5 separate regions of the Homo sapiens genome follow, and all the other regions are linked to region 1. The links are contacts of gene promoters, found by promoter capture Hi-C in blood cells and fetal thymus (Javierre and others, 2016). All regions are on one chromosome and are shown on one strand. The core of a region is centred on a gene start or on the middle of the fragment in contact, and the rest is flanking DNA. Distances in the headings are between cores, read along the strand shown.

Evidence for each region. Contacts are between HindIII fragments. The CHiCAGO score rates a contact against its expected background, and 5 or more counts as called.
Region 2: a contact is called between the fragment with the promoter of TMEM179B here and the fragment with the promoter of EEF1G in region 1, in 17 of 17 cell types (monocytes, fetal thymus, activated CD4 T cells and 14 more). The highest score is 44.5, in monocytes.
Region 3: a contact is called between a fragment that was not itself captured here and the fragment with the promoter of EEF1G in region 1, in 5 of 17 cell types (total CD8 T cells, monocytes, neutrophils and 2 more). The highest score is 6.9, in total CD8 T cells.
Region 4: a fragment that was not itself captured here is called in contact with the fragment with the promoter of EEF1G in region 1 in 6 of 17 cell types (erythroblasts, megakaryocytes, M0 macrophages and 3 more); the score reaches 7.0 in erythroblasts.
Region 5: a contact is called between a fragment that was not itself captured here and the fragment with the promoter of EEF1G in region 1, in 3 of 17 cell types (naive B cells, neutrophils and naive CD8 T cells). The highest score is 7.1, in naive B cells.

What each region holds. Positions count from the first base shown.
Region 1 is chr11:62,572,242-62,576,687 of GRCh38, forward strand. It overlaps EEF1G (eukaryotic translation elongation factor 1 gamma), which reads right to left and starts at 1,650. Exons shown (of 10, transcript NM_001404.5): 1 at 1,590-1,650; 2 at 343-501. The coding sequence starts at 1,601. It overlaps TUT1 (terminal uridylyl transferase 1, U6 snRNA-specific), which reads right to left. Exons shown (of 9, transcript NM_022830.3): 8 at 4,416-4,446; 9 at 2,811-4,003. The coding sequence ends at 2,853. RefSeq lists enhancers at 1,619-1,818, 1,774-2,735, 2,519-2,578, 2,736-3,697. The HindIII fragment of the contact is 8,528 bases long and covers 709-4,446 here.
Region 2 is chr11:62,784,881-62,789,326 of GRCh38, forward strand. It overlaps TMEM179B (transmembrane protein 179B), which reads left to right and starts at 2,522. Exons shown (of 5, transcript NM_199337.3): 1 at 2,522-2,647; 2 at 4,143-4,330; 3 at 4,412-4,446. The coding sequence starts at 2,552. It overlaps TAF6L (TATA-box binding protein associated factor 6 like), which reads left to right. Exons shown (of 11, transcript NM_006473.4): 10 at 1,380-1,508; 11 at 1,637-2,462. The coding sequence ends at 2,416. It also overlaps a transcript of TMEM223 not described here. RefSeq lists an enhancer at 1,593-1,792 and a silencer at 2,043-2,152. The HindIII fragment of the contact is 7,473 bases long and covers 1-4,446 here.
Region 3 is chr11:62,765,935-62,770,380 of GRCh38, forward strand. POLR2G (RNA polymerase II subunit G) reads left to right here. Exons shown (of 8, transcript NM_002696.3): 7 at 309-342; 8 at 560-776. The coding sequence ends at 573. Among named protein-coding and RNA genes, the nearest start is that of TAF6L, 3.2 kb to the right of the region's middle. RefSeq lists an enhancer at 3,700-3,749. The HindIII fragment of the contact is 6,556 bases long and covers 1-4,446 here.
Region 4 is chr11:62,380,078-62,384,523 of GRCh38, forward strand. The region is part of intron 4 of ASRGL1 (asparaginase and isoaspartyl peptidase 1); the gene reads left to right. Among named protein-coding and RNA genes, the nearest start is that of SCGB1A1, 37 kb to the right of the region's middle. RefSeq lists enhancers at 2,068-2,633, 2,634-3,199. The HindIII fragment of the contact is 1,392 bases long and covers 1,737-3,128 here.
Region 5 is chr11:62,744,026-62,748,471 of GRCh38, forward strand. No RefSeq gene overlaps it. Among named protein-coding and RNA genes, the nearest start is that of ZBTB3, 7.9 kb to the right of the region's middle. The HindIII fragment of the contact is 8,358 bases long and covers 1-4,446 here.

The DNA of each region.
Region 1 (4,446 bases), core at 400-2,899:
TCCTCCATTCTTAGCATGTTTCTTCACCTATCTCTATAAACCCCTTGGGGTAAGAATTCTGCTCATAACAGATATCTGATATATTTGCACTGAAAATGCTTAGTCAAAACTCATTCTCTTTCCCACAAAGTAAACTCGTGAATTTTATAAAGTCACAGAATAGCTCTGTATTTTTTTTCACAACTACATGTAAATCTGTATTTATCTCAAAATAAAATCACCGAAATTGAATAAAACAACATGGGAAGCTCCCTTTTAGAGATGGGGGCCACCACCAGAGTGACAGAATCGCAGGGCCTTGGTTTCTCAGAACCGAAGGATGCTCCCCATCTCCCAACTCACCTTGCCGGCAGGAAATTTGCGGAGAAATTCAGGGGTGCGGTTGGTTTGGCCAAAATGGAAGTGGGGTGGTGCGGAGAGCACGCGGACCTGAGCCCCGCTGTACTGAGCAGCGATGAGAGCCTTGAAGGCCCTCCAGTTTTCAGGATACGTGTACAGGGTCTATGGGAGAAAGAGAGGGACAAAATTAATGAGTAGAAGGGTCCCAGTCCTTAATGCCACTCTCCAGGATGACTTTCCTGAATAATCCCAATGTATTCAACTCACCCTTTTACTTCCTCTGGTGAACCAAGTCCTTTAGTACTTGTCATATGTAATCAGAATCCTCCGAAATACCAAGAACAGAACTACACACCAACTGCTAAATAAAGCTTGTTGACAGATTTGACCTTCCCTAAGGACACCTCTGGAAGTATTCTCTTCCTCTCAAATCTATCTCCAAGAAATCCAGAACTTCTAGCTCCATCAGACTCCATCTGCCTACAAACATACTCTCCTCCCTTCCCGGAGCCCTCGCTTCATTCATTGATGGTTCCGAGCGCCTGCCTACTCTACTGCTCAGCTGCTCACCGCTTCAAAAGCATCGTCCTGTCTCTAAGGCACGCACGACGATCGAGAGATTTCTAGTTCCCCTCAGACTAGCCAGAGATAGGGGATGGCATGCCGTCTTCTTAAATCAACTCCTCTCTCTCAAAAAGCCTTTCTTTCCGTGTCGCGAATATCATCCCTCCGGTCCTGTCCCGCAGCGAGTTCCCCGGCGTTGGGCTTCTCTATTATGCCGGCCAGCGGAGTCCAATTGGTCTGACTTCACTGTCCGGAGAATCCTCTCGCTCCCAAACCTCCCTGAGAGACGACCTTTAACCGTGCCAGCCGGACCTGCCTACAAAGACCCTCCTCTTCAACCTGTCCCCTGTGTTACTCCACAAAACGGACACAGAAGTTCGTCAACCTGCCCAGATACCACGCCTCAAAGCGGCAACAGAGCCGAACCCCTTTCTCAGGCTTCGGACGGCCCAGACCCGGCATCTCTTTTCTCCTCTTCCCCAGACCCTTCCACCTCTGGCCTCCGAGAGCCCCAGCCTCAGTTCCCCTCCAGGCCCTAGGAACCCTACTCTCCAGCAGTACAGTCTGTAGACCCCCGAATCAGTTCCCCACTCAACCTCAGAACTCCTCTGGCGCCGACTGGCCCCACTCGGGCAAAGGATGGCGGTGGATAGGATGACCCGAACCACCAGAGCCAGCAAACTTACCCCAGCCGCCATGGTGATTCCGCAAAGAAAGGGGGTGGGGTTCTCGGCGCTGCCGCAAAGTAAGCCGCCCGGGAGAGAAGGGAGGGGGAAAGAGGAGAGCCGTGGAGAAACAGCAGCCGGAAAGCGAGGACGAAACAGAAGACATACGTACGACAGTTCGGTATCCAGTGGCGCTGAATTGGAAAAAGAACTGGGTGGGTGGGGCCTGCTGGCCAGCGCGGAAAAAGCTCGGGCCTGCGCATTGGAGCTCTTGACTGGCCCGCCCCCCAGGTGCAGCGGGCCAATCGGAGTCTAGACGTGGAGGTAGACAGCGTGGAGGGCGGGGAAGTTGTGAGAACCCGCTGGAAAAGCCGCGAGTTCTTGGCTACGTGGCGCGGTTGTTGGCCCGGCGCGGCCAGTGCTACTGGGGGCGTCCCTCTCTGGCCCTCCCAGGGACAAGTGACTTGATGGTAGATTTTGCCAAGCCCCTCACATGATTCTATGAAACTCATGGGAGCGAGGAACAGCTGCTGCGCGGAGGTGGCAGTGTGTGTGCTAAATCCCTTTAGTTCCTGCTCTGCTTTTCCTCCAGAAAGGGATGAGCGTCTAACAGGGGCCCCGGTCTGAACCCGCCTGCCAAAGTGAGGTTTGCTCACATCCAACCCCTGACAGCTCCAGGGTGCTGTTACTGCGAGCAGGGCACCGGCCCTCCGGCCCGAAGCAGGGCAGGGACATGAGGGAGAACGCGCCCTGTCCCTCCCACCTCCTCCGGACTCGGCCCCTGGAGGGGCTGACGCTGGAAGACCTGACATCGTCGCTTCTGATGTTCATGGCTTTTGACCCATGTTCAGGTTTGAAATCTCTTACCCAGTTTAAGAACGGGATGAACTCTCCTCGTTTAAAGGAGAGAATGAAGAACGCTGAACGCAAATCTCCGTCCTTGTGCGCATAAATCTGAGGCGACAGGAAGAATGTGGAGGCAAACCTGGCTCTTCTCAGTACTGCTGGAGCCACCCACCGCTCTGCCATTCAGGAACTCTGCGCGGGTGCCAGGTGCCACGCGCGGTGCTGCCCCCGCACTCCCCTCGAGCTGTGCGAACTGTAGGAAGGAGAAGCTGGTGGGGTGGAGAGCAACAGGGAGAGACCCATGTTCGGGGTCAGACGGGAGCAGCTGCAGGAAGTTCTGGGGGAGGGGAAGGGGGATTATGACCAGATGGAAATGAAAGGAAACGGGAGACTGTATTAATAAACTAGCAGCTTTATTGCCCTTCAGGGGCCATGTCTTCACTTGAGATGTCGAATTGCTTGAGGGAGGAAAACCTGTAAGAAATGATGGAGATCAGGGAACAGGCCTTGGGGATCCTGGAGCGGGGTCACAGTGAGCATTCGGTCAGCCGGGGAGACAGACGCCACAAAGCTCAGCAGGGGCTCAGTTTCTGGCCTCTCTTCGCCACCACTCAGTCCTTTCAGCTCCTGGGTGACCTGAGCCTCAGTCGCCAGCCACCCTGCTCTTGTGCCAGCGCCACCTCCAGCTCCCTCCTTGGTTTGCTGCTGCAAGCGTCTACGGGCTCGCCGCCGCCCTTGCCACACTCGGTGCCACAAGGCACAGCGCCAGCTCGCTGAGGAGGGCAGGGATGCCCCCTTCCCTGCCTCACCCTGAGACCATTCTTGGGCTGCCTCATGTCCCTTGGGCCCCCGCTCTGCCAGGGCTGCGTGGCTGGGCTGCCCCTCTTCTCCAGGGGCTCCATGCTTTCCAGTGGTCAGGGGCAGGTCCCCTGGCTGCCCAGGGCTCTGCATGGCCCAGTCCTGCACCATCTCTCCAACCTCTATAACCATCTCTTCTACCCTGTCTTCCCCACCGTCCCCTGCACATCCCTGCTGCTCCTCTTTCCCCTCCTCACAGCAGTTTTTCTGTCCATCTACTTTGAGTCTTTTGCTTGTCCCTCCCTGAGAGGACTCCCCAGTTCCACCTCCTTCTGACCGCGTTCTCTTGGTTGCCTGTTCTATATGGCACCCCAGTGCTTCCCTGAATACCTGCACCAGGGCAGCAGTGAGCTGGGTGAAGGGTGCAAGGGGTAAAGGGATCGGCGTAGCAGAGAGCAGGGAGCTGGGGGAGCTGGGCTGCAGAAGAGGGAGCAGCCCCCAGTCCCGACCCCGGGAGGAACGGCGCTGGTACTGGAGGCTTCGGCAGTAATTGGCTGCTGCTCGGCAGCAGTTCTGTAGGCGCCCAGCCACCCGGCTGGTCACATTGGCTGCGACATTGTGACTCAGGTCAAAAGGGTCCTGGAGATTCAGGGGGCCAAGGCGCAGACCCTCCCAGAGATTAGAAGGCAGGCCCCCTGCCACAGGCAGTGCCTGACCCTCCCGCAGGGACAGCAGGGAGCCACGAAGATCCCAACAAGATACACAGGAGAAGAACTGGGCTAGCAGGGAACCTGGAGGAGGAGGAAGAGTGGGGAAAGGGGGGTCACTTAGAGGCCAGAACTGATACAGGTCCTGCACCAGAGCCATTTCCTTAGCAGGACTTTTTCCCTTCCAAGGGGCTCAGCAGAGTCCCAGGAAGCTAGGCTTCTCTGATCCCTATAAACAAGAGGTCAAACCTCTCTCCCTGCCCCCACATGATGTCCTTGCCCAGATGCTGCTGCTCCTTGCTAGCCAGTGTAACCTTGGGCAAGTCACTTAATTGCTCCCAAACATGGTTTCTTCATCTGTAAAATGGCAGTAATAATATTAGGTATCTCACAGGCTTTCTGTGAGAACCATGCCTGGCACACAGTTAGTGTGATATATGTTACCTACTGTTGATGAACATCATTACTAGTCCTCTACCAGGCTCCCCAAACTCACTGAGGGGCTCCACATTTATGCTGGGCTCCAG
Region 2 (4,446 bases), core at 1,272-3,771, 210 kb after region 1:
AACATGTTTCCTCTCATGTACTGTCCTTGTCTGGTTTTAGAATCAGGGTTATACTGGCCTTACAGAATGATGTGGGGAGTATTTCTTTTTTATATTTACTTTAATAAGATTTAGATCATCTTTTTCTTTTCTTTTTTTATTTAATAGAGATGAGGTCTTCCTACATTGCCCAGGCTGGTCTCAAACTCCTTGGTTTAAGTGATCCTTTGGCCTTCCCAAAGTGCTGGGATTACAAGCGTGAGGCACTGCACCTCGCCTATCTTTTTCTTGAGTGTCTGTAGACTTTTGTAAATTCTGGCATGGTATTTTCTTTCCTTTTTTTTTTTTTCGAGACAGAGTCTCACACTGTCACCCAGGCTGGAGTGCAATGGCGCGACCTCGGCTCACTGCAACCTCTGCCTCCTGGGTTCAAGCGATTCTCCTGCTTCAGCCTCCCGAGTAGCTGGGATTACAGGCGCTCACCACCATACCTGGCTAATTTTTTGTATTTTTAGTAGAGACGGGGTTTCACTGTGCTGGCCAGGGCTCGTCTCGAACTCCTGACCTCCTGATCCGCCTGCCTTGGCCTCCCAAAGTGCTGGGATTACAGGCGTGAGCCACAGCGCCCGGCTGGTATTTTCCTTATAGGCCCAGCTGGTATTTTCCTTATAGTTAATTCTTTTTTTTTTTTTTGAGACGGAGTCTCACTTTGCTTCCCAGGGTGGAGTGCGGTGGTGTGATCTCGGCTCACTGCAACCTCTGCCCCCCGAGTTCAAGTGATTCTCCTGCCTCAGCCTCCCAAGTAGTTGAGATTACAGGCAACTGCTACTGCGCCCAGCTAATTTTTGTATTTTTAGTAGAGATGGGGTTTCACCATCTTGGCCAAGCTGGTCTTGAACTCCTGACCTCAGGTGATCCACTGGCCTCGGCCTCCCAAAGTGCTGGGATTACAGGCGTGAGCCACAGCGCCTGTCCAATCACAGGATTTTAAATTGTATAATCAGAGTCCAAGTCTCTGGTTGGTTGTTTTTATGCAGATTGTTTGAACTGAGTCTCAGTTTACATCTAAGTGAAGCCAGTACTTGCCTGATTGTATAGGGTAGCAGTATGCAAACTAAATTTTGGAGTTGTCAGTAATGAGCATTATTTAGCACACAGGGCAGTGATATTGGGTATATTTTTTATTGTCTCCCTTTGTACCTTATCTTTATTCCCAATGCCTAGCTTAGGTATACAGTAGGTTCCAAATAAATATATGGTTGAATATGCCAATCAGGGAATTTAGGAGGATTGAGCCCTGTCTAGGATCAGAGATAAAGGTAGGTCTTTCATGGGAAAGGGTCCTTGAGAGGGAATAAGTATCAAAGACATGCTAACTGTATTCCTTCTCTTCCTTCCAGGCAGTAGAACGAGTCCTGTACCCACACCTGTCCACCTACTGGACAAACTTGCAGGCTGTGCTGGATGATTATTCAGTATCTAATGCCCAGGTCAAAGCAGATGGACACAAAGTCTATGGAGCCATTCTGGTGAGTACCGTCCCCTTCCAGCCTCCCTTCCCTGCATGAGCTTAGCAGCCAAGCAGGCTTACTTTGGAATATTTGATGGGCCCAGGTTCCTCGAATTTTTTGCCTATCTTAGTCCTTGGCTCTTACAGGTGGCGGTAGAGCGACTGCTGAAGATGAAGGCCCAGGCAGCAGAGCCCAACAGGGGTGGCCCAGGTGGCAGGGGGTGCCGGCGCCTGGACGACCTGCCATGGGACAGCCTTCTCTTTCAAGAGTCGTCCTCCGGGGGCGGTGCAGAACCCAGCTTTGGGTCCGGCCTCCCGCTGCCGCCAGGGGGCGCGGGGCCGGAGGACCCTTCTCTTTCGGTGACCCTGGCCGACATCTACCGGGAGCTCTACGCCTTCTTCGGTGACAGCTTGGCCACACGCTTTGGCACCGGCCAGCCTGCACCCACGGCTCCGCGGCCGCCCGGGGACAAGAAGGAGCCGGCGGCAGCCCCGGACTCGGTGCGGAAGATGCCGCAGCTGACGGCAAGCGCCATAGTCAGCCCGCACGGCGACGAGAGCCCCCGGGGCAGCGGCGGAGGCGGCCCCGCGTCGGCCTCTGGGCCCGCCGCCTCTGAGAGCAGGCCCTTGCCGCGCGTGCATCGGGCGCGCGGGGCACCCCGGCAGCAGGGCCCCGGGACCGGCACCCGCGACGTTTTCCAGAAGAGCCGTTTCGCCCCGCGCGGCGCCCCGCACTTTCGTTTCATCATAGCCGGGCGGCAGGCTGGGAGGCGCTGCCGCGGGCGCCTTTTCCAGACTGCCTTCCCCGCGCCGTACGGGCCTAGCCCGGCCTCGCGCTACGTGCAGAAACTGCCCATGATCGGCCGTACCAGCCGCCCCGCCCGCCGGTGGGCGCTCTCGGACTACTCGCTGTACTTGCCGCTCTGAGTCAGTGGCCCCTTCGTTCCTTGTAAATAAATCCCGCCCCCGGAAATGACGTCTCCACCTTCGTGGGTCGCGCCGGATAAGGTGGGCTTTGGGCGGGGTGCTGCTGCAGCGGCGCTTCCTGGTGGTCAGGGCGCCATGGCGCTGTCCTGGCTGCAGCGCGTCGAGCTTGCGCTCTTTGCTGCCGCCTTCCTGTGCGGGGCCGTGGCGGCCGCGGCGATGACTCGGACCCAGGTGCGGCTGCGGGGCGGGGTCAGGTAGGCGGGGGAGCTGGCCGGTCTGGACATGGCGAGGCCACTTTCGCTTTCCGACCGGGCTTGCTGCTGCTCGGAGCCGGTGGACCTGGTGAGGCACGGCTGGCGCCGGCCTGTACCTGAAATGCAGCGAGGCTAATCGCGCTTTGTGGCTCCTCCTGGCCAGGTCATACTTCGAAGTTGTCCCCTCGCCAAAGGGACGGGTCAGTAGCGTCTTAAAGCACTAGGTGGAGTCGGGTTTCGTGGCTCCTGCTGCACAGCCTTACTGTGGTTCCGAAACAGAAGTCAGTGCAGAACCTGCGTCCATCCGTTAAATCAGAAGCCATTTGTGCTGAGCTTTGTCGAGAAATAAAGCATAGTGTAGTGGAGATGATCAAGCTGCCACATGATTGTAGCACAGTGTGTTAAATGACAAAATGAGAGATGGAGAAAACGCTGACGTAAAGGTAGAAGCCAATAATTTACATCGTTTACCCCAGCCAGGTAATCTGGTTAATAAACATGGGTTCATTTAATGCCTATAAAGTAGGCACTAGTGTGCCTATTTTACACCATGAGAAAACCTCAGAGATCCGCCGGGCGCGGTGACTCACGCCTGTAATCCCAGCACTTTGGGAGGCTGAGGCAGGCGGATCACTTGAGGTCAGGAGTTCGAGACCAGCCTGGCCAACATGGCAAAACTCTGTCTCTACTAAAAATACAAAAATTAGCCGGGTGTGGTGGCTCATGCCTGTAATCCCAGCTACTTCGGAGGCTGAGGCAGGAGAATCGCTTGAACCTGGGAGGCGGAGGTTGCAGTGAGTCGAGATCGTGCCATTGCACTCCAGCCTGGGTGACGAGCGAATCTCCATCGCAAAAACAAAAACAAAAACACTGGCCGGGCCTGGTGGCTCACGCCTGTAATCCCAGCACTTTGGGAGGCCGTGGCAGGCGGATCACGAGGTCAGGAGATCAAGACCATCCTGGCCAACACGGTGAAACCCTGTCTCTACTAAAAATACAAACAATTAGCCAGGCATGGTGGCGGGTGCCTGTAGTCCCAGCTACTCAGGAGGCTGAGGCAGGAGAATGGCATGAACCCAGAAGGCAGAGCGTGCAGTGAGCCGAGATGGCGCCACTGCACTCCAGCAAAAAAAAAAAAAAAAAGCACCTCACAGATAGTTATTTGTTGAAGGATATACAAGGCCTGGGTTTACTCTAAGGTTTCTGCACAGAGACCATAACTTGTGAGGCTTCTCTGAAGCTCATTGCATTCTATATTCATTGCCTATTTTCTGATCCTTCTGGCCACTGCCGGTGTGATTCCCCAGCAGGCCCTCTCCATCAATATCCCTGTCCCAGAAATAGGAATTGACGGTGCACAAATAACTTCCTGGAATGCAGGACCATTCCTAAGTTATCACTAACACCCTACCAAGAGACTGTATCTAGAGACATTAACCTGAAATCTAGGACTCAGCAGCTTCTCTCCACAGGGCTCCTTCAGTGGTAGATGTCCCCTGTATGGTGTGGCCACCCTGAATGGCTCCTCCCTGGCCTTATCCCGTCCCTCAGCACCATCCCTGTGCTACTTTGTAGCTGGGGCCTCTGGCCTCTTGGCCCTCTACTGCCTCCTGCTTTTGCTCTTCTGGATCTACAGCAGCTGCATCGAGGACTCCCACAGGTGACTGCCTAACCCTGAGGGCCAGGGGCTGAGGTAGGATGAGCCTCACCTCCACCACAAGGCTTGTTCTCTCCCTTTCAGAGGTGCTATAGGGCTGCGCATTGCACTGGCCATCT
Region 3 (4,446 bases), core at 585-3,084, 190 kb after region 1:
CCGCCACCACACCTGGCTAATTTTTTATATTTTTAGTACAGACAGGGTTTCACCATGTTAGCCAGGATGGTCTCGATCTCCTGACCTAATGATCCACCCGACTCGGCCTCCCAAAGTGCTGGGATTACAGGTGTGAGCCACCGCGCCTGGCCGAGAGCTGTCGATTTCTTACCACCCACAGTTTCAGGGGGTTCTGTGCTCTTCTGCCAGGAAGAAGGGATGGATGGGCAGAAGGCCTGGGGCTGCAGGGTGGAGGTTGGTTCTGTGCTCATCTTGGCTTCACTTTCTTTTTACCATCTTTCTTGCAGTTTGCTATTGGCTCCCTGATGGACGATTACTTGGGTGAGTGCCTGATCATAGGTGCTGGGGTTATTGCCTGGAGAAGGGATGTGTGGGGGTGGGGAGTAATATAGGATTCAATGCCCAAATCAGAGAGACAGAAGAAACTTTCATGCTGTCTGCTTGAAAGATCCAGGACATTTGCCTTGGGATGAGGAGTACATGGTTGTGGCTACCCTAAATTCCGGTTCTAACTGATATGCTTTTTCTGGTTTCGCAGGGCTTGTAAGCTGAGCCTGGTGGCCTCCTACCCTTGGTCCTACTCTAGGAAGTGTGATTGTCACACTTATCATGTTGTCCAGAGGTCCAGTCTGGCTGCTGTTGTGGAGGCAAGGAAGGCAACTCATCCCAGAAGGCATCTGGTGCTTCTTGTAGCTTAACTACTGCCTCCTCATTTTTCAGTATGTGTTCTAAGTATAAAAAGTCCTTGGTTCTCATGGAAGTGTTATCTTCTTTTTTTTTTTTTAGCAGGAACAATAACTCTTTAAAGAGGCTGTGGAGTTGGCTGCTTACTAGCCCCTCTTTTTCTTAGACTGATGCCTCTACTAGCCTCAGCCACCCAGGGGAACTGACTAACCCATTTGTCCAGGTTTAAAGGTGACCTCACTGAAGTCAAGGCTCTGATGTTGGGTCTTTGGCTTCCAGCAAATGATACCATCATTAGTGGCATTCTGGGTCCTGATCTAGTTCCAGAGTGTTTGCTCTTCTCCTGCCCTTAAAAGTAACCAAGAGCATAGCTGGGAAAGAAGGGAGAGGAGACAGCAGACAGGGAGAGATGAATAAGAGGCTAGTAATGACACAGACTGTAGGATCTCAACACAGCCTTTCCTAAGTTGGGTATATAAACAATAGTATATCACTATACTAAACTGAACTGAAGATGTAAAAGGGCTCACAATCTAGTTAGGGTGACAAAAAATGTATGAAATGCCTACAGGATTAAAGAAACATGCCAATTTTCCCTGGCACTATACCTCTGCAATACTATTTTGTCTACCTTGGAATGCCCTTTCCCAGCTTGTCCATTTCCTATCTACTAATCTATGAAATCTCATTTCAATTATTATTATTATTTTTTCTTTAACTTTCTTTGACTTCCCTGGGAAACAGAGCTCTGTGGCAGAAAACAAGAAAGCATGGTATTTGGATTGATACAGAGCTGGTTTAAGTCTTAGCTGGACTCAAGAGGATAAGAGATGAGGCAGGTAAATTGCTTGAACCCGGGAGGGGGAGGTTGCAGTGAGCTGAGATCCCTCCACTGCACTCCAGCTTGGGCTTCAGAGTGAGACTCCATCTCAAAAAAAAAAAAAAAGAAAAGAAAAGAGTCTTAGCTGGATGACCTTCTGTTTCCTCATTATAAAATGGGCAGAAAACCCTCTTTGGAGGCTGCTGTATCAGACATCATATGTTCAAGTGGCTGGCATAGAGCCTGGTCCATGATGGGCACTCAACTTTTAATTATCATAATTATTATATAATGCATCCCAAAGCCAGTGCAGTGGTGTGTATCTGTAGTCTCAGGTACTTAGGAGGCTGAGGTGGGAGGATCACTGGAGTCCTGGAGTTCTTCCTAAGTTCTCAAATAGGGGAATAACACCAAGCCTGAAAGGAAGAAATTGATGGACAGAGAAGCAGCTCATGGATCCTGAGCATGTGGGTGCTGGTGAGGATGTAGGGTGTGGCATCGAAAAGGCTGGCACTAATTAAAAAAAAAAAGGAAAAAAAAAAAGCCTGGCACTCTAGTGGGGAAGGGAACAAGTGGGGATGCCCTGGAGATGGTTTCCAGAACTCTTCTGAGCTTTTTTTTTTTTTTTTTTTTGAGACAGAGTCTCACTCTGTCGCCCAGGCTGGAGTGCAATGGTACGATCTTGGCTCACCGAAACCTCCGCCTCCTGGGTTCAAGGGATTCTCCTGCCTCAGCCTCCCAAGTAGCTGGGATTACAGGCATGTGCCACCACGCCCAACTAATTTTGTATTTTTAGTAGAGACAAGGTATCTCCATGTTGATCAGGCTGGTCTCAAACTCCTGACCTCAGGTGATCTGCCCGCCTCGGCCTCCCAAAGTGCTGGGATTACAGGCATGAGCCGCCGCGCCCCGCCTCTTCTGAGCTTTTAAGGTTGGTACTAAGGGATTCTGAAAGTTACAGCCTCCTAAAGCGGTCACAGGCTAATAGAGTACCATGTGCTTGGCAACATGCTAAATCCTTTACACACTTTTCTGAATCTTCACAACAGTTCCATGGAGTAGATTTCGTTATCCCGCTTTATAGTTGATGAGACAGGTCAGACAGGTGAACTAATATGCCTAAGGTCACACAGCTGGTGAGCTGTGATTTTTTAAAAACAGTCTGGGCTTGTTGTGGTGGCTCATGCCTGTAATCCCAGCACTTTGAGAGGCCGAGGTGCGCGGATCACTTGAGGTCAGGAGTTTGAGAACAGCCTAGCCAACATGGCAAAACCCAGTCTCTACTAAAAATACGACAATTAGCCAGGTATGGTGGTGCGTGCCTGTAATCCCAGCTACTCAGGAGGCTGAGGCACAAGAATCGCTTGAACCGGGGAGGTGGAGGTTGCAGTAAGCTGAGATTGCTCCACTGCATTCTAGCCTTAGCAACAGAGCAAGGACTCTGTCTCAAAAAAAAAAAAAAAAAAAAATTGGCCGGGCATGGTGGCTCATGCCTGTAATCCCAGCACTTCGGGAAGCTGAGGCGGGCGGATCACAAGGTCAGGAGTTGAAGACCAGCCTGGCCAACATGGCGAAACCCCATCTTTACTAAAAATACAAAACTTACAGCACTTAGCCAGGCATGGTGTCGGACACCTGTAATCCCAGCTCCTCCAGAGGCTAAGGCAGGAGAATCACTTGAAACTGGGAGGGCAGAGGTTGCAGTGAGCTATCACGCCACTGCACTCCAACCTGGGCGACAGAGCGAGACTCAGTTTCAAAAAATAAATAAAAATAAAAATAAATGAATAAAAACAGTCTGACTTTGACCAGGCACAGTGGCTCATGCCTGTAATCCCAGCACTTTGGGAGGCAGAGGCGGGTGGATCACAAGGTCAGGAGTTGGAGACCAGCCTAGCCAACATGGTGAAAACCCTGTCTCTACTAAAAACACAAAAATTAGCTGGTGGTAGTGGCAAGTGCCTGTAATCCCAGCTACTTGGGAGGTTGAGGCAGGAGAATCATTTGAACCTGGGAGGTGGAGGTTGTAGTGAGCCAAGATTGCGCCACTGCACTCCAGCCTGGGCAACAGGGTGTTACTCCGTCTCAAAAAAAGGAAAAAAGAAAAAAAGTCTGACACCAAAGCCATCATAGTTCTTGCCAGGCATTGGGTGTGTGGAGCGAGCCACCTTTCTCCCATCTGTGGCCATGGAGGTCTCACTACTGCCTTCCCTGGTTCCTGCCTCCACTCAGATTGGGAGCAAATGAGCTCCAGACAGGTTGGATACAGGTTCACTACATCTAATAGGTCCCGGGCAGTCCCGGTCTCCCTCCCATCTTCTAGTGTCTCCAAGGTTGCTGATGGCTGTCCAGAACAGTAAACCTAAGCAAGGAGGTCAGCCAGCTGCCCAGGTCTGGCTAAGCTGACTTCAGGCTCAGTCAGACCTTAGAGGAGAGCGCCCTCTCTCTTTCCCTTAACGCACAGGTGGGCAGACACTTGAAACCACTTCTAATATGGTTCTGAATATGAGTGGAAGAGACTCAGCAGGGTCACATTCTCCTTAGGTGGGGTTGCCATGGCAACCACAGTCGCATCCATCTGGCTTTGCCAGCTCGGGTCCCAGGGGATTTTCTTTTCCAGCGGCAGCAGCATCTAACCCTGAGAGGGGGAAAGAGAAAAAATGTGTACATTCATGCTCCCTTGCAGAATGTTCCCACAGTTCACTCAGTGCAAACTACCCCATCTTGGGTGAACTTAAAGGAATTCACTGTATGCCTTGTGACATGTGAGGGAAAGAAAGTTTCTCTCTTTTTTTTTTGAGACGGAGATTCACTCTTGTTGGCCAGGTTGGAGTGCAGTGGCGCGATCTCGGCTCACCACAACCTCCGCCTCCCGGGTTCAAGCAATTCTCCTGCCTCAGCCTCCCGAGTAGCTGCGATTA
Region 4 (4,446 bases), core at 1,183-3,682, 190 kb before region 1:
CCCAAATGTTCTAACTTGTCCTCCTAAAGCAACTCCCATTATTGCTTGAGCCATAAGCATAGTTTTATGCATAGCTCCTCCAATTCCATCATAGGCTTTTACGTACTCTGAGATTACATCTGATCCTGTGGGAACCTTCCCTTTTAATGGCTTAGTGGCTGATTGACACTCAGGATTGGCGTTTCCATATGCCATCAACTCCACTATGACCTTACGGGCATTTTCATCGGTAATTGACTTTTGAGCAGCATCTCGGAGCCTTGCCACAAAATCAGGGTAGGGCTTTTTAGAGCCTTGTCTTATTGTATTGAATGAGGGGCAGGTGGTTCCTGGGTCTTGGATTTTTTTCCCAGGCCCTAAGGCAGATAGCTCTAACTTGCTCAATGGCCTCATTTTGCATTATTGCTTGTTGATTAGTAGTGCTCCAATTTTGACCTTTTCCTAATAGTTGATCTGCATCTATGTTAACTGGAGGATTGGCAGCCCTATTACTTCAGACCTGTTCTTGTGCCCCATCAATCCACCAACTCTTAAATTGTAAAAATTGAGACAGTGAGAGTGATGATTTGGCCAAAATCTCCCAATCATAAGGAATGAGTCTATGTCCATGAGCAGTGGAACCTAATAATGTTCTCATATAAGGGGAGTTGGGTCCATACTGTTTTACTCCCTCTTTCATATCTTTTAACATTTTTATAGAAAAGGACTCATATCTGGCCCCAACTAGGGTAGGCGCTCCTTCTTGGGCCCCTTCTCCAGGTGGCATCGGTACTGGGAATTGCCACGCCTCAATATCTCCTTGTTTCCTTGCCTTATCAATAATTTTATGTAATGCACTACCTTGTCCACTAGGTGGTGCTGTAGGATAAAGTCTTATAGTGGGCGGCTGAGGCTATAGCGCCCTGCCCTGTGGTGCTGGAAACACTCCTGGCTGTCCATACTGATTTTCTGGGGGCGGCCGATACTGAAGTTCGGCTGGCGGCCAGTATTGATAGGCTACTGGCGGTTGGGTCTTATTTTCTACCGGCTGATATTGTGGATACTGTATTTGGATTGGCGTTGCCATGACAGAGACTCTCTATTTGATATTCTCTTGGGGTTTGTACTTGTCTAACCTGCATTTGAGGTTGTAATGTTACAGGCATCTGAACCGCTGGAAGAGGAGTTGGCCATCATGGTTTAGACTCTGATGGCCCCGCTAATTCTGGACCTTTTTCTTCTAATTCTAATGCTTCAGGATATATTACCTCCTGTAATTGATTGTAGTCAACATTTTGCATTGACCGAGCCATTACAGACTCTGCTACATATTTACAATGTGAACTTTTGAACTTTCCATTCCTTTCTGGGATTCTATCCCTGCCTATTCTTCACAATCTATTACACAGCTTTCAGGGGCATCAGCAACTGAAACGCTATCTTCTCCTGTTTGAAACAGTTCTAAATTAGCTGCTTTAATAATGGCCCAATCATTCCATACGGTAAGTGGGATGATTTTACCCTTCCTACTTGCTTGTTTTAATTCTTTGCCAATTTTTTCCCAATCTTTTAGATCTAAAGTTCCCTGTTCTAGAAACCATGGGCAGAATTGTTCTACTGTTTGAAATAGCGTGATTAGATTTTTTTGTAGAGACTCTAACTCCCCCCTTTTTAAAAGAATTTTAATAAAGCTGAGATAAGAGGCATATTTACTTTCAGTTTGCCCCATTGTTACCCTAGGTTCTTCCGAGGGCACAAGCTTACCACAAGACTGACTGTAGACGTACTCGGGAATCTCTCATCAACTTGTTCTCAATGACCACGCTCTAGCTCACCTTCACCCTAGAGAAAAGCACCCACGTTGGGCACCAGATGAAGGGGTGGCCAGCCCCTCTACACCTGTGGGCGTTTCTCATCAGGTGGGACGAGAGACTGAGAAAAGAAATAAGAGGCTGGGTGCGGTGGGTCACGCCTGTAATCCCCGCACTTTGGGAGGCCGAGGCCGGTGGATCACGAGGTCAGGAGATCGAGACCATCCTGGCTAACAGGGTGAAACCCCATCTCTACTAAAAATACAAAAAATTAGCCGGGCCCAGTGGCGGGTGCCTGTAGTCCCAGCTACTCAGGAGGCTGAGGCAGGAGAGACAGAGACAACGTATAGAGAAAAAAAAGTGGGCCCAGGGGACCGGTGCTCAGCATACGGAGGACCCCCACCGGCAACAGTCTCTGAGTTCCCTCAGTATTTACTGATCATTATCTCTACCATCTGGAGAGGGGGATGTGGCAGGACAATAAGTTAATAGAGAGGAGAGGGTCAGCAGGAAAACATGTGAACAAATGTCTCTGTGTCATAAATAAGGAAAGGTGCTATGCCTTGATGTGCATGTATACAAACATTAAAGAGCAGTATTGTCGCTAGCACCTCTCACCTCCAGCCCTAAGGCTGTTTTCTCCTATCTCAGTAAATAGAACATACAATCGGGTTTTAAACCCAGACATTCTATTGCCCAGGGACAAGCAGGAGACAGATGCCTTCCTCTTATCACAACTGCAAAGAGGCCTTCCTCTTTTACTAATGCTCCTCAGCACAGACCCTTTACGGGTGGGGTGTCGGGCTGGGGGACAGTGTCGGGCTGGGGGACGGTCAGGTCTTTCCCTTCCCACAAGGCCATATCTCAGGCTATCACATGGGGAGAAACCTTGGACAATACCTGGCTTTCCTAGGCAGAGGTCCCTGCAGCCTTCCGCAGTGTATTGTGTCCCTGGGTACTTGAAATTAGAGAATGGTAATGACTTTTAACAAGCATACTGCCTTCAAGCACTTTTTTAACAAAGCACAGCCTGCATAGCCCTAAATCCATTAAACCTTGAGTCAACACAGCACGTCTCTGCGACACAGGGTTGGGGTAGGGTTACAGATTAACAGCATCTCAAGGCAGAAGAATTTTTCTTAGTACAGAACAAAATAGAGTCTCTTATGTCTACTTCTTTCTACATAGACACAGTAACAGCCTGATCTCTTTCGTTTCCCCACAAATCCATATAGTATTTGAGTGTGATAATGTAAAAATCAGTATTCATTTCTAAATCTAAGTACTGCTTTGAGAATTTTGTTGGTAATTCCAGTTGCTGCTGCTTCAGCAGAAGGAAGCTTCTCCAAATTAAAATAAATTAAAAACTTGCTAAAAACTATGTTGACTCAAGAAAGCTTGTCTTTTGCCATTTTGTCAATAGAAGTCACGTTAAGTATAAGAACATCATCAGGGGCCGGGCGCGGTGGCTCACGCATGTAATCCCAGCACTTTGGGAGGCCGAGGCGGGCGGATCACGAGGTCAGGAGATCGAGACCATCCCGGCTAAAACGGTGAAACCCCGTCTCTACTAACAATACAAAAAATTAGCCGGGCGTAGTGGCGGGCGCCTGTAGTCCCAGCTACTCGGGAGGCTGAGGCAGGAGAATGGCGTGAACCCAGGAGGCGGAGCTTGCAGTGAGCCGAGATCCCGCCACTGCACTCCAGCCTGGGCGACAGAGCGAGACTCCTACTCAAAAAAAAAAAAAAAAAAAAAAAAAAGAACATCATCAGGCCAGGCTTGGTGGCTCACGCCTGTAATCCCAGCACTTTGGGAGGCCAAGGTGGGTGGACTGCCTGAGCTCAGGAGTTCATGACCAGCCTGGGCAACATGGTGAAACCCCATCTCTACTAAAAAATACAAAAAATTAGCCAGGCTTGGCAGTGTGCACCTGTAGTCCCAGCTTCTCAGGAGGCTGAGGCAGGAGAACTGCTAGAACCCAGTTGCAGTGAGCCGAAATCACACCACTGCACTCCAGCCTGGGCGACAGGGCAAGAGTTGGTCTCAAAAAAAAAAAAAAAATCAGTACTCCCTGGAATGAAGCCAAGAAAAAATATTTTAATGGAATAAATACATAACTTATTAAATGCATCTGTGTGTGTGCATGTGTGTGTGTGCACGTGTGTGCGTGTGTGTGTGTGTGTGTTTGCCATTCATCTGCCATCACCAGCCGATTAACAAATGACCCTGGTATGCACAATAATAACTAAGTTAAGTCATCATTGGTAGTTTGTCAGCTTGCAGTGAGCCAAGATCACACCCCTGCACTCCAGCCTGGGCAACAGTGCAAGACTCCGTCTCAAAAACAAAAAAAAGTCCGGGCGCAGTGGCTCACACCTTTAATCCCAGCACTTTGGGAGGCCAAGGCAGGCAGATCATGAGGTCAGGAGTTCAAGACCAGCCTGGCCAAGATGGTGAAACTTCATCTCTACTAAGAATACAGAAAAATTAGCTGGGTGTGGTGGTACACGCCTGTAATCTCAGCTGTTTGGGAGGCTGAAGCAGAGAATTCCTTAAACCCGGGAGGCAGAGGCTGCTGTGAGCTGAGATGGCGCCACTGCATTTCAGCTTGGGCAAAAGAGCAAGACTCCATCTCAAAAAAATTTAAAAAGTAGA
Region 5 (4,446 bases), core at 1,010-3,509, 170 kb after region 1:
CAACATGGCAAAACCCTCTGTCTACAAAAGATAGAAAAATTAGCTGCCACTAGGGTGCATGCCTGTAATCCCAGATATTCAAGAGGCTAAGGTGGGAGGATCACTTGAGCCCAAAAGGTTGAGGTTGCAGTGAGCTAAAATTGTGCCACTGCACTGAAGCCTGGGCAACAGAGTGAGACCCTGTCTCAAAAAGAAAAAGACAGTTAAGAGACATCAATCAAATAAATGCATGACACTACTTTGGATTCTAATTGGATTCTCATTGGGAAAAAGAGAAACTTGAGTAAGAATTATTGTCAGGGCCGGGTGCGGTGGCTCACACCTGTAATCCCAGCACTTTGGGAGGCCCAGGCGGGCGGATCACAAGGTCAGGAGATGGAGACCACGGTGAAACCCCGTCTGTACTAAAAATACACACAAAAAAATTAGCCGGGCGTGGTGGCGGGGCGCCTGTAGTCCCAGCTACTTGGGAGGCTGAGGCAGGAGAATGGCTTGAACCCGGGAGGCAGAGCTTGCAGTGAGCCGAGATCGCGCCACTGCACTCCAGCCTGGGTGACAGAGCGAGACTCCATCTCAAAAAATAAATAAATAAATAAATAATTGTCGGAGCCAGGGGTGGTGGCTCATGCCTGTAATCCCAGCACTTTGGGAGGCTGAGGCGGGCGGATTCCAAGGTCAAGAGATCGAGACCATCCTGGCTAACACGGTGTAACCCTGACTGTACTGAAAATACAGAATTAGCGGGATGTGTTGGCGGACGCCTGTAATTCCAGCTACTCGGGAGACTGAGGCAGGAGAATCGCTTGAACCCGGGAGGTGGAGGTTGCGGTGAGCCGAGATGGCGCAACTGCACTCCAGCCTGGGCAAGAGCAAAACTCTTATCTAAAAAAAAAAAAAAAAGGCCGGGTGCGTTGGCTTACGCCTGTAATCCCAACACTTTGGGAGGCCGAGGCGGGTGGATCACGAGGTCAGAAGATCCAGACCATCCTGGCTAACACAGTGAAACACCGTCTCTACTAAAAATAGAAAAAAAATGAGCTAGGCGTGGTGGCGGGCGCCTGTAGTCCCAGCTACTTGGGAGGCTGAGGCAGGAGAATGGTGTGAGCCCGGGAGGCAGAGCTTGCAGTGAGCCGAGATCACACCACTGCACTCCAGCCTGGGCGACCGAGCAAGACTCTGTCTCAAAAAAAAAAAAAAAAAAAGAATTATTGTCAGTTTTCTTGAGTGTGATAATAGTATTTAGTCTGCTGAAATTGCTTGCTGATGAAATTGTACAGGGCACTGTACAGCACTTCATATCACTTGACCCAATACACAAAAAAACTCAGGAGTCTGAAGTGGGAGAATCACTTGAGCCTAGGAGTTCAAGAGCACCCTGGGCAACATAGACCCCATCTCGAAAAACTAAAATAAGTGGCCGGGTGCGGTGGCTCACGCCTGTAATCCCAGCACTTTGGGAGGCCAAGGCGGGCAGATCACGAGATCAGGAGATCGAGACCATCCTGGCTAACACGGTGAAACCCCGTCTCTACAAAAAATACAAAAAATTAGTCAGGCGTGGTGGCACACGCCTGTAATCCCAGCTACTCGGGAAGCTGAGGCAGGAGAATGGCGTGAACTCAGGAGGCGGAGCTTACAGTGAGCCGAGATCACGCCCCTGCACTCCAGCCTGGGCTACGGAGCTAGACTCCGTCTCAAAAAAAAAAAAAAAAAGAAAAGAAAAAAGAAAACTAAGTCAGTTTATAGCTCACAAGCACACATTTTCAGTATGAAACTTAATAGGCTGGGGCCTGGTCCATACTCCTATAAAGGGAGACAGATTTTGGCTCAGTCTAAGGAAATCCAACAACTAGGACACCAACAATAGGTTTCCTTTGGGAAAGAGTTTTTTGGGTTTTTTTTTTTTTTTTTTGAGACAGAGTCTCGCTCTGTCGCCCAGACTGGAGTGCAGTGGCGTGATCTCGGCTCACTGCAAGCTCCGCCTCCCAGGTTCACTCCATTCTCCTGCCTCAGCCTCCTGAGTAGCTGGGACTACAGGCTCCCGCCACCACGCCTGGCTAACTTTTTGCATTTTTAGTAGAGACGGGGTTTCACCGTGTTAGCCAGGATTGTCTCGATCTCCTGACCTTGTGATCCGCCTGCCTCGGCCTCCCAAAGTGCTGGGATTACAGGCGTGAGCCACCACGCCAGGCCGAGGTTTTTTTTTTTTTTTTTGAGACAGAGTCTCGCTCTGTAGCCCAGGCTTGAGTACAGTGGCACGATCTCAGCTCACTGCAACCTCCGCCTCGCAGGTTCAAGCGATTCTCCTGCCCCAGCCTCCTGAGTAGCTAGGATTACAGGTGCCCGCCAGCACTCCCGGCTAATTTTTGTATTTTTAGTAGAGATGAGGTTTCACCATCTTGGCCAGGCTGGTCTTGAACTCCTGACCTTGTGATCCACCAGACTGAGCCTCCCAAAGTGCTGGGATTACAGGTGTGAGCCACCGTGCCTGGCCTGGTTGTTTTTTTTTTGTTTGTTTTTTGTTTTTTGAGATGGAGTCTCGCTCTGTTCCCCAGGCTGGAATGCAGTGGTGTGATCTTGGCTTGCTACAACCTCTGCCTCCCAGGTTCAAGCAATTCTCCTGGCTTGGCCGCCAAGCAATTAGCTGGGACCACAGGTGTGTGCACACTGACATGCCTGCCTAATTTTTGTATTTTTAGTAGAGACAGGGTTTCACCATCTTGGCCAGGCTGGTCTTGAACTCCTGACCTCCCAATAATCTGTCCACCTCGGCCTCCCAGAGTGCTGGAATTCTAGGTGTGAGGTGCCATTCCCGGCCTCAAGTGGAGGTTTGATAACAACTGGCAAAAGGAGGATTCAGTGTTAGACTAGAAATTAGATGAGCTGATCCCCAGGAGCCTATGGTTCCTTGAATCCCTGAATGGGAGCATTAAGACCAGTGGAAATGAGAAAGAATTATTGATCACATCTCTACAAATGGGCATAAACTGTTCCTACCATTCAGTAGATAAACTGAGGCCACAGGCTGGGTATGGTGGCTTATTCCTGTAATCCCAGCCACCGCTGCACTCCAGCCTGGGTGACAGAGGGAGACTCTGTCTAAAAAAAAAATCAAACTAAAAAAAAAATAATAAATAAAATGAGGCTGGGTGCGGTGGTTCACACCTATAATGCCAGCACTTTGGGAGGCCGAGGCGGGGCGGATCTGAGGTCGGGAGTTCCAGACCAGCCTGACCAACATGGAGAAACCCCGTCTCTACTAAAAATACAAAAAAAATTAACCAGGCGTGGTGGCGCAGCCTGTAATTCCAGCTACTAGGGAGGCTGAGGCAGGAGAATCGCTTGAACCCAGGAGGCGGAGGTTGCAGTGAGCCGAGATTGCACTGAGCCAAGATCATGCCATTGTACTCTGGCCTGGGCAACAAGAGTGAAATTCCGTCAAAAAATAGTAATAATAACGAGGCCACAGTGGCTGTAACTGTGATAGCTACTGCTTTACATATCTTGCAGGCTGGGCATGATGGCTCATGCCTGAAATCCCAGCACTTTGGGAGGCCAAGGCAGGTGGATCGCTTGAGCCCAGGAGTTTGAGACCAGCCTGAGCAACAGCGCGAAACGTCATCTCCACAAAAGATACAAAAATTAGCCATGCGTGATAGTGCATGCCTGTAGTTCCAGCTGCTTGGGAGCTAGAGGGGTTGAGGCTGCAGTGAGTCGTGATAGTGCCACTGCACTCCAGCCTCGGAAACAGAGAGACCTTGTCTCAAAATAAATAAATAAATTAATTAATTAAAATATTGCAAATTCCTGACTGCCACCTGCAAGAAAACATGCCCTTTATGCTGGATATTGAAAGCAAATGCTTGCTTCTCAGGAGAATCTCACCAGGAACAGAACCTCTTTAGCTAAGTAGTACATGTGACCACAGTCTGATCAATACAATGGTTCCTGTGTTCCCCAGACTGTCTGGAGAGATCATCTACATCAAAATTGTCTACACATATAGACCATTTATTATGCCTTGATTTTAAGAACTGATGTTCTGAGACAACCAGGTTTTTTTTTTTCTGTTTTGTGTTTCTGTTGAAATTGAGATATTCAGACCGTAAAATCCACCCTTTTAAGGGCAACTGATTCATAAAGGCATTTTGATTTGATATTTACTCTAGGGAAGACTTTTGAAAAGGTGTTCTACCCAGCTAGAATAGCTTTTATTGTATTTATTTATATCTTGCCTTGTTTCATCAAGGAATTAAAGCAGTAACGTACTTGCATAAATAAAATTAGGAGCCATTTGAAAGATAAGCTAGAAGTTTATTTCAACACAAAGAATGTGAAAGAATGTAGAATTCATTCAGCAGAAAAATGTTAACCATCTTTTGCTTCCCATATGTCCTAGTTAAGGAGCTTTCTTTAGCCACATGGCTGCTCACCTTTCCTTCCTGT